Regions from separate parts of the Homo sapiens genome. Here region 2 is linked to region 1. Evidence: promoter capture Hi-C in 16 types of primary human blood cells and fetal thymus (Javierre and others, 2016). All regions are on one chromosome and are shown on one strand. The core of a region is centred on a gene start or on the middle of the fragment in contact, and the rest is flanking DNA. Distances in the headings are between cores, read along the strand shown.

The links. Contacts are between HindIII fragments. The CHiCAGO score rates a contact against its expected background, and 5 or more counts as called.
Region 2: a contact is called between a fragment that was not itself captured here and the fragment with the promoter of RSPH4A in region 1, in 1 of 17 cell types (neutrophils). The highest score is 6.4, in neutrophils.

Annotation. Positions count from the first base shown.
Region 1 is chr6:116,613,606-116,617,865 of GRCh38, forward strand. RSPH4A (radial spoke head component 4A) reads left to right here and starts at 2,874. Exons shown (of 6, transcript NM_001010892.3): 1 at 2,874-3,704. The coding sequence starts at 3,019. RefSeq lists enhancers at 2,924-3,023, 3,074-3,193. The HindIII fragment of the contact is 5,584 bases long and covers 1-4,260 here.
Region 2 is chr6:116,073,518-116,077,760 of GRCh38, forward strand. It overlaps a transcript of FRK not described here. Among named protein-coding and RNA genes, the nearest start is that of FRK, 15 kb to the left of the region's middle. The HindIII fragment of the contact is 1,171 bases long and covers 761-1,931 here.

The sequences.
Region 1 (4,260 bases), core at 1,624-4,123:
CTCAGGAGGCTGAGGCAGGAGAATTGCTTGAACCCAGGAGGCGCAGGTTGCGGTGAACCAGGATTGTGCCACCGCACTCCAGCCTGGGCAACAGAGTGAGACTGTGTCTCAAAAACAAAACAAAACAAACAAACAAAAGCAAAAACAACCAAACACTAGACACTTACATCAGAAAAAAAAAAAAGAAATCTCAAATAAATAATCCAAGTTTCCACTTCAAGACACTAGCAAAAGAAGAGCAAAATAAATACAAAGTAAAGAGGAGCAAACAAATAAGAAGAGAAATCAATGAGATTGAAAACAAAAATAATAGAGAAAATAAATAAAACCCAAAGCTAATTTTAACAGTGTCCAGTAAGATTGATGGACTTCCAATAAGACAAAGAAAAAAAGAGAGGGCAAATTATCAAAATCAAGAATGGAAGAGGAGATATCACTACAGACCCCACAAACATTAAAAGGATGAGAAGGGGATGCTGCAAAGAACTCTGCAAACATAAGTTCAACAACTTGGATGAAATGCATAAAATCCTTTAAAATTGCAAACTACCAATATGCATCCAAGATGAAAGAGATCATCTGAACAGTCCTATAACAACTTAAAAGTTTGAATTTGCAGTTTAAAAACCGCTTGAAATAGAAGTTTCCAAACTCATACAGTTTCACTGTAAATTTTACTAAACATTTAAAGAAATGACACCAGTTCTATATAATCTATTCCAGAAAACAGAAAAGGAGGAAACACTTCTCAACCCATTTTATAAGGCCAGCATTATATGACACATAATACAAAACTGGGAACATAAGTAGGCTAAGAGCTTTAGTCTTTATCTTAAGAACAGTAAGAAGCAAATTTAGGATTACTAGAGTCAAAGTCAAGATAAAGCTCTGGACTGAAAATGAAGCAGGAATAATAACGGACACTTACATTGTTCCTTTCAGGTGCTCTTCACTCCTAAACTGGAGAGATAAGCAAGCTATGTCTGTTCCTTCATGCGTTCTTTCTCCTGGCCCTACTACCCTTCTCTGGCTTGTCTTTTTTTCTTTTCTTTTCTTTTTTCCTTTTCTTTTCTTTTTTCTTTTTCTTTTCTTTTCTTTTTCTTTCTTTCTTTTTTTTTTTTTTTTGACACAGGCTTTTCTGACTCCAGCCTGGATAACAGGCTGTCGTCCAGGCTGGAGTGCAGTGGCACGATCTTGGCTCACTGCAACCTCCGCCTCCTGGGTTCAAGCAATTCTCCTGCCTCAGCCTCCGGAGTAGCTGGGATTACAGGCACTCGCCATAATGCCCAGCTAATTTTTGTATTTTTGTAGAGATGCAGTTTCACCATGTTGGCCAGGCTGGTCTCAAATTCCTGACCTCAACTGATCCACCTGCCGTGGCCTCTCAAAGTGCTGGGATTACAGGCATGAGCCATCTTGCCTGGCCCTCTGGCTTGTCTTTCAAAGAAAAAACACAAAAGTGCTGGGATTACCTGGTGAAAAAAAGACAAACTGCTTGGATTACAGGTGTGAGCTACCACACCTGGCCCTCTGGCTTGTCTTTCAAAGAAAAAAAAAGCCTCCATTACAGCTTGCCAGCTGCAAGGGAGAAATTAAGGGGGAAAAAATGCTAACTTCCTCAACTCTTGCACCAATTACCAAAAAACCCCAGAATTTATTGTTCTAGTTTATCTTAATGTTCTGTTTTTAGAAATCCAAGCATTCTAAATCCCAGACATTTGACTTTAAAGAGTCTCTGTACCAGCAGAAGTTATATTCAACATTTTGTGTGTGTGCACACAGTTTTTATCAAATTATTTTAGTCTGTGATTCCCTCACCACACTGAATGGAGGAGTATTATGTTCTTCCATGAAGTTAGAATTTAGAGCAACATCTTGCTAAATAGAAGCTATATCAATGTAAACTGTCAAATGCCAAGTATTTGTTGGTATATTTAGAAAGAGAAAGAAATACAAAACAATTAACATTAAAGACTTTAATTAATATATGGTTTATAGTTAAGTCCAGATATGGTCCAATCTTCTATACCTTCTTCATATTGGAGACTGTATACTATAAATGAATAGTCATAATCTTGAACTTAAATCATTGCAAAATTATGCATTTACATTTACATTATCAAATAAAAATTATATTATGCCAATATAGTTTAGTGTTAATTTGAATTTCAATTATTAGAAAACGGGTAACCCATGAATTGCCTATTTATAGGTTTTCTGCATTGCCTTCTCAAGTATAATATTCTGCCTAATCACCAGGAGATTCCTTATAAGCAGGAAGAACAAAACTCAGGACTGCTTTGTCTATTCTCCGAGTCTTTAGAGTTGGTTGGTTGTAGCTGATGCACGCTAAATGTGAGGCTTGGGGTCTCCTGGTCAGCACACTGGGGTCCCATTGTTACCTGCACCTCCGAGATTACCAAGGTCAGTCTCTTCCTCCCTCTCTACCCCTCACTCTCCTCTCTCCCTCCCTCCCTTCCTTCCTCCGTTCTTTCCTTCCTTCCTTCTCTCTCTCTCTCACACACACACACCCTCCACACACACGCTTCATGAATACACTGTCCCTCCACTAACGCACGACTCGCTCCTCACAGCACAACTTGGATCAGTCTCAGACCCCTAAAGGTCTCTCGCATGGGGTCGCCATTCTTCCTACTTTGTGCTCAAGGCGCAGGATCTGGAGTTCTCGGTTTCCAAGCAAGACTGGTCGAGTCTAGGTCGGATTGGCTGCGATAGAACGAGGGGCAGGGGTTGTACCGAATCACAAAGCTAGGATTTTCATCTCTCTCTCTCGTTCTCTCTTAGTCTCCGCCCTCGAATCCTGGCAACAGGCGCGGTGAGTTTTTCTGAGAGGAACCCGGCCTGGGGTTGCTATGGAGATAGGACGCAGCAACTCACAGAGCAACCAGGACCCAGAAATCGCTTAAGAGACCGCGGCAAAGTAACTTAACTGAGTTGCCTTCTTCCATATTTTCACGCCCCTTTCATCCAGAACATTTTTTTTCTTGAACTGCTTCCATGGAGGACTCAACCTCCCCGAAGCAAGAAAAAGAAAACCAAGAAGAACTAGGGGAAACAAGGCGGCCATGGGAAGGAAAGACAGCAGCTTCTCCCCAATATTCTGAGCCTGAGTCGTCTGAGCCCTTGGAGGCGAAGCAGGGGCCAGAAACTGGACGCCAGTCCCGAAGCAGCCGTCCTTGGAGCCCGCAGTCTAGAGCCAAGACGCCTCTGGGTGGCCCCGCGGGACCAGAAACATCATCACCTGCTCCTGTCTCTCCGCGGGAGCCCTCTTCCTCTCCTTCTCCCCTGGCTCCGGCCAGACAAGACCTCGCGGCACCACCTCAGTCGGACAGGACCACGAGTGTGATTCCTGAAGCTGGGACACCTTATCCTGATCCTTTGGAACAATCATCTGATAAAAGAGAATCAACTCCTCATCACACAAGCCAGTCAGAAGGAAACACCTTTCAACAGTCTCAGCAACCCAAACCCCACCTGTGTGGACGAAGGGACGTGAGCTATAACAACGCTAAACAGAAAGAGCTGAGATTTGACGTTTTTCAGGAGGAAGACTCAAACAGTGACTATGATTTACAGCAGCCGGCGCCTGGGGGCTCTGAAGTGGCCCCCAGCATGCTTGAGATCACCATTCAGAATGCTAAGGCTTACCTGCTGAAGACTAGCAGCAATTCGGGCTTTAATCTGTAAGTCTCAGAGGGAAAAAAGATAAATGTTTGGCAAAGCAAGAGGGTGTGTGAGTATCTCTGTGTGAGAGTGTGTTTCTGTGGGTGAATCAAAATATATTTGAAAGATTGTGTTAGTAAAAGAGAGTTAATGACATAACTCTGGATCACATGACTCAAAACAGGTCATTAATGGAGATTCTTGTACCTTCTTTTTCTTAACCTTTTTTTTTTTTTGTCCTTTTCCTCCAGCTTCTTTAAAGACCCTAGGCACACAACAAAATAAAACTTAGGAATTATGGAATCTCGGGCTTGAAAAAGACCATAAAGACCATAAAGTCCAAGCATCTCTCCAGGATGCTTGTGAAAAATAATTGTCTACCAGTGAAAGCAATCACGTCTCTCATCTGTAGATGCTATTGCTTGCATGGCTTTTGAGTTCCCAACCCAGGCAGTGCTAGGGTGACCACCATCTCAGTTTGGCTGAGCGCTGAAAGTTCTTTATCCTAAGAAACCCCTTAGTCCTCGCAAACTCGGAGAATTGGTCACTATACAAGCTACCTGGAACACATGCCAT
Region 2 (4,243 bases), core at 96-2,595, 540 kb before region 1:
ATATGTAACAACAATAATAAAATTAATTTAGCAGAAATTATTGTTGAGAACATTAAATAACAAAAGCACTAAACATATTAAAAATGAATAGGGAAGCAGCAGGTAAGTGATCGCCACTTAAAACTCTCGCAAGAAGCCTCTACAGCCCATGACTTATTTTCCTTGTACATATTATGTAGGAAACTATTTTTCAGTTCATGCAATAATACTTACACTCCATTTTTCCATTAAAATGTGCTCATAAGTATTAATCAATTCCCATAACAGCAAAGAGATAGCAAAGAATTATCCAGAGTTGACAGACTGAGAGCTTGAAATGATGTTTGACTATAATGCCAAAGACTGCTGGGGGAATTAATAAGAGCTGACACGAGAGTTCCAAATTCTGGCTCCTGGCTGCTGCCAGGGTGAAGGAAGCTGTGAGCAAGTTAACTTATCCTGTCCTCTGCCCACCACATTGACACAAAGGAGCCAAGAGCACCTGCTTCTAAATTACCCCTGCATGATCAGCAAAGCTACTGCAGACGCTCTTTCTATCTTAGCTCTTGGTGTCTCAGAGTTAGGTATTTCACTTAGAAAAGATTAAGAAAATCTTCAAATCCACAATTCAATGACCTGGGTCAAGAAGTCCTCCACAGGTCTGACTTAGAGCTTAAGAAATAATACTGTTATATCCTAAAGCTAAAACCAGGAGACTGGGGGTGACTCATCTGTCCTCATAATGACTAACACCTTTGTGTACATGCTTTTAATGTTAGGAAGCTTGAGATTTGTACATGGCATACTGGTTACCAGGGACTGAGGGTCTCCAGCTCTGCTGGACTTTCAGTTTTAAAACTGAGGAAGTCCCAGGCAAACCCAAATGGTTGGTCACCCTTCTTCTGGGTAATGAAATATGCCATGCTTCTTCATTTTATGTAACTGATGAAACTAACGTAACCAGTTGTCTTATTTCTTCGAGTAATCAGATATACATGGGGCAAAATTAAATTTGAGCAAACACTTTTAAATTATTTATTTAAAAATATATTTTAGTGAGTTATGGCTACATTTTCATAGATAGCAAAATTTCACTAACAATATTGAAACTGCCATGAGGTAGGACCATCCATATATATCAAAGCCTATACCAAAAACTTGTCTTGAGATTATTTCTTTGCATAGAAGTCAGACGGGAGGAGTCTAATTCCCTTTGTACCATCCCAGGTCCACTTCTCATCTGTGGCCCTCAGCCAACCTACATCACAGCCCTATGAAGGGATGTGAAAAACTTCCTAATGCTCTCCAGTGCCATACCAGGGCACAAGAGAATCTGAGGGGCTGCCCTTAGTTTTCTATGTCATGCCTGTCCCTCTGTTGTGCCATGCTGTGTTCCCTTTGACTTTATGCCTTGACATTATGGCCTCCTAGGGTTACAATCTGGGAAGCCAGGCAGCAATATATACTGCTCTGGGACCTATCCGATTCCCCCTCCCTTGTGAGTGCTCAGAGAGAAGGAGAAGGGCAGAGATTAGGGTCATTTCAATCATCCAAGGGGGTTTTCAGCTCTCACCAAGGCCCCTCTGATTCTCTTTTTCCCACTTGCTTGTTGAACTCTTCTCTCCTTTTGGAAGAGAAACCAGTTCTTACATGTCACCATCCACTCTTTCTCCACTGTGAATCATGAACAGATTCTATGCTAGGTCCCAGGCTTTGGCTTCTCTATAATTACTTTCTATTTATGTGACTGTGAGTAAGTATTTCTTTTTAAACTTCTTATGCCCAAGTCCTCATCTGCAAAAATAGGGATAATTATAGTATCTACACCATATGGATCATTGTGAAGATTATATGAGTTAATAGGTATAAAAGGCTTACGAAAATTTTGACACAAAGTAAGCCCCCAAAAAAGCTAATAGTATTTTTGATTTTGGTGTGATTATGCAAATGTAAGCTTAAGAGCTGGGGGAAAAAAAAAAAAAAAAAACCTGGAACTTTTTTTCCTCCCAGAAGTTGGTACAAAGACTTTTCATTTTAAGATGATTGTTTCAGTCAAAGGATCAAAGGCCCACTTTTAAACTCAGGTGAGAAATTAACGCTCTTCATTGGGGTTCTTTTGTGCCCTCCTTTCCCTAGAGACCTAGACCTCAGTCTTTGGCTCTGTTTTTAACAATAAAAAAGTGCCCCACCACCACCCACAATTAAGGAGTAAAGGGATGAAATAATACCAGGATGATATTACGGTCCTTTGCTAGCTGTGTGACCTTGGCAAGTGGCATAAATTCTGAGCCCTACACTTTACAGGTGCTCAAAGAAGGCTGTTAAGGCTGGACTGAACAAAGTGAGGAGAGTGACAAGAGGTGACAATGAAAGATAGAGGGATGAGATCTGCAGGGCCTGTAGACTGTAGAACACAAAAATTTAATGAGATGATAAATGTAAAATTTTGGCACATATCAACTCTCCTTAACATTGATTCCTTGCATACCTTGACATTGACTTCTTCCTGGAAATTCCTTCTGCAACACAGAATTTCTCATCCTCATCTTCATTATTGTTTTCTTAGTGCTCTTCTTGTTTTAAGTATTTTAAATTGAGTCACTTCGTTTATAAATGTCCATTTTCTAAGTGTCTTGCATATCTGTTTCTGTATGAGAACTCTCACCAAAAGTTTATATGATGATTGCCAGATGATAAAAGATTTTTCTGAAATTATTTAAAGGAAATTATTCATTTTTTTCTTACAGTATGTTATGATGGATGTCATATATATGCAATGTATATCAAATTTATTTATGCAAATATAAAATACTAAACAGCAAAGTTCAAAATGATTTATTTTCTTTAAATTATTTGAAAGTATCCTTTTCTATTGGACCACACTTCCTTTTGTATTTCACATATTTTAATTTCAACTATTGAGTCATTTTCTTGATTTTAAAAATGATTTCACCATTAGATTTTTGCTATCTTTTTATAACAAATGAGAAATTATTATTTTTTTCATCCATTTCAGCCCTTGTAAAAGTATAGCAATGATAAGGAAGCAAAGGGTATGAAATAGCTTATAAACACCTTGCTGAATTGTTCCTGATTGGTCAATGACAGACATGTCTAATATCATTGTTGCACTTATTTTGAGGATGAAAGCTGATAAGTGAGCTTAACTGCTCAAGGGTCACACATTTCCAACCAATTCTCATGTGTTTTTCTTTGACTAAGGTGGTGCAGTGAGCTGGCTGCACAAATGGCCATGCAGACCCAGGCGGTGTTTATACTTCTGTTGTTCCATGAGTGCCCTATGCACTGATTCTCTAAGTTAAAATAATAATAGTAACAATGCCTTTCACTTTGCTATCAGTTTGAATCTGAACTTGTCCAAGAAAGGTGTTTACCAGATCAAGGAAAGAAGGGTGATAACGTTATAGATTATTTTTATTGTACTCTATCTGCATTATCTTGAAAAATCCATCTCCCAATTCATAAACATTTTCAGTTGCCCAAAGATAATTCCGAAGTATTCATATATCAGATTGACTATCCAAAAGATGAAAGAAATGAAAATCAAAAAGTTGTAAGTTCCTACCACATTTAGATTAATGAAGTAATTCATATAGAAATAGAGGTACATTACAAACTCCATTTTACATGTTTTTACCTGTAATGTAGTTACTGTCAGTCAGCTTTATAACAAAATAGAAAAACAGAGGCTTTAGGTTATTTACTGAAGTCACACATCAAGAACCAAGCAGGAATTAGTTCCCAATGCATCCAATGCCGAAGGCTTCATTCCTTTATGATGTTGTGGAAGGAATATTTCACATAGGGCTTAGCTGTGCCTGTGAAAATGCACCCTAAGACACCAGCCCTTCCCCACCTTGATGGGCCCAGGGTTGCTTTTCCTTTCACAAAAATTACAGTTGACTTCAGCTGCTCCTCAGGTAAAGTGGACTTTAAATCCTATAGCTCCCCACCCAACTCATTCAAATTTGTAATTTGATCCTTGCAGATACATGCACGGTGCTAATTCAGTGTGATCTTTCTCTAAAATATGGCTTCTCTCCTCTGATTTATTTAAACTGTAATTACCCTTAATTTCTTTCTTGATCACATATTCATGTGTACATTACCTTACTCATTGAACAGTTTTTTGAATATTTCCTAAATTCCAGGGACTATCTAGGTACTGGAGAAAGCTTGTGCTTCTTTCTTTCAGAGAAAATGGAGACTCTCCTTTGCTTTATTATAGATCTCGATGTCATCA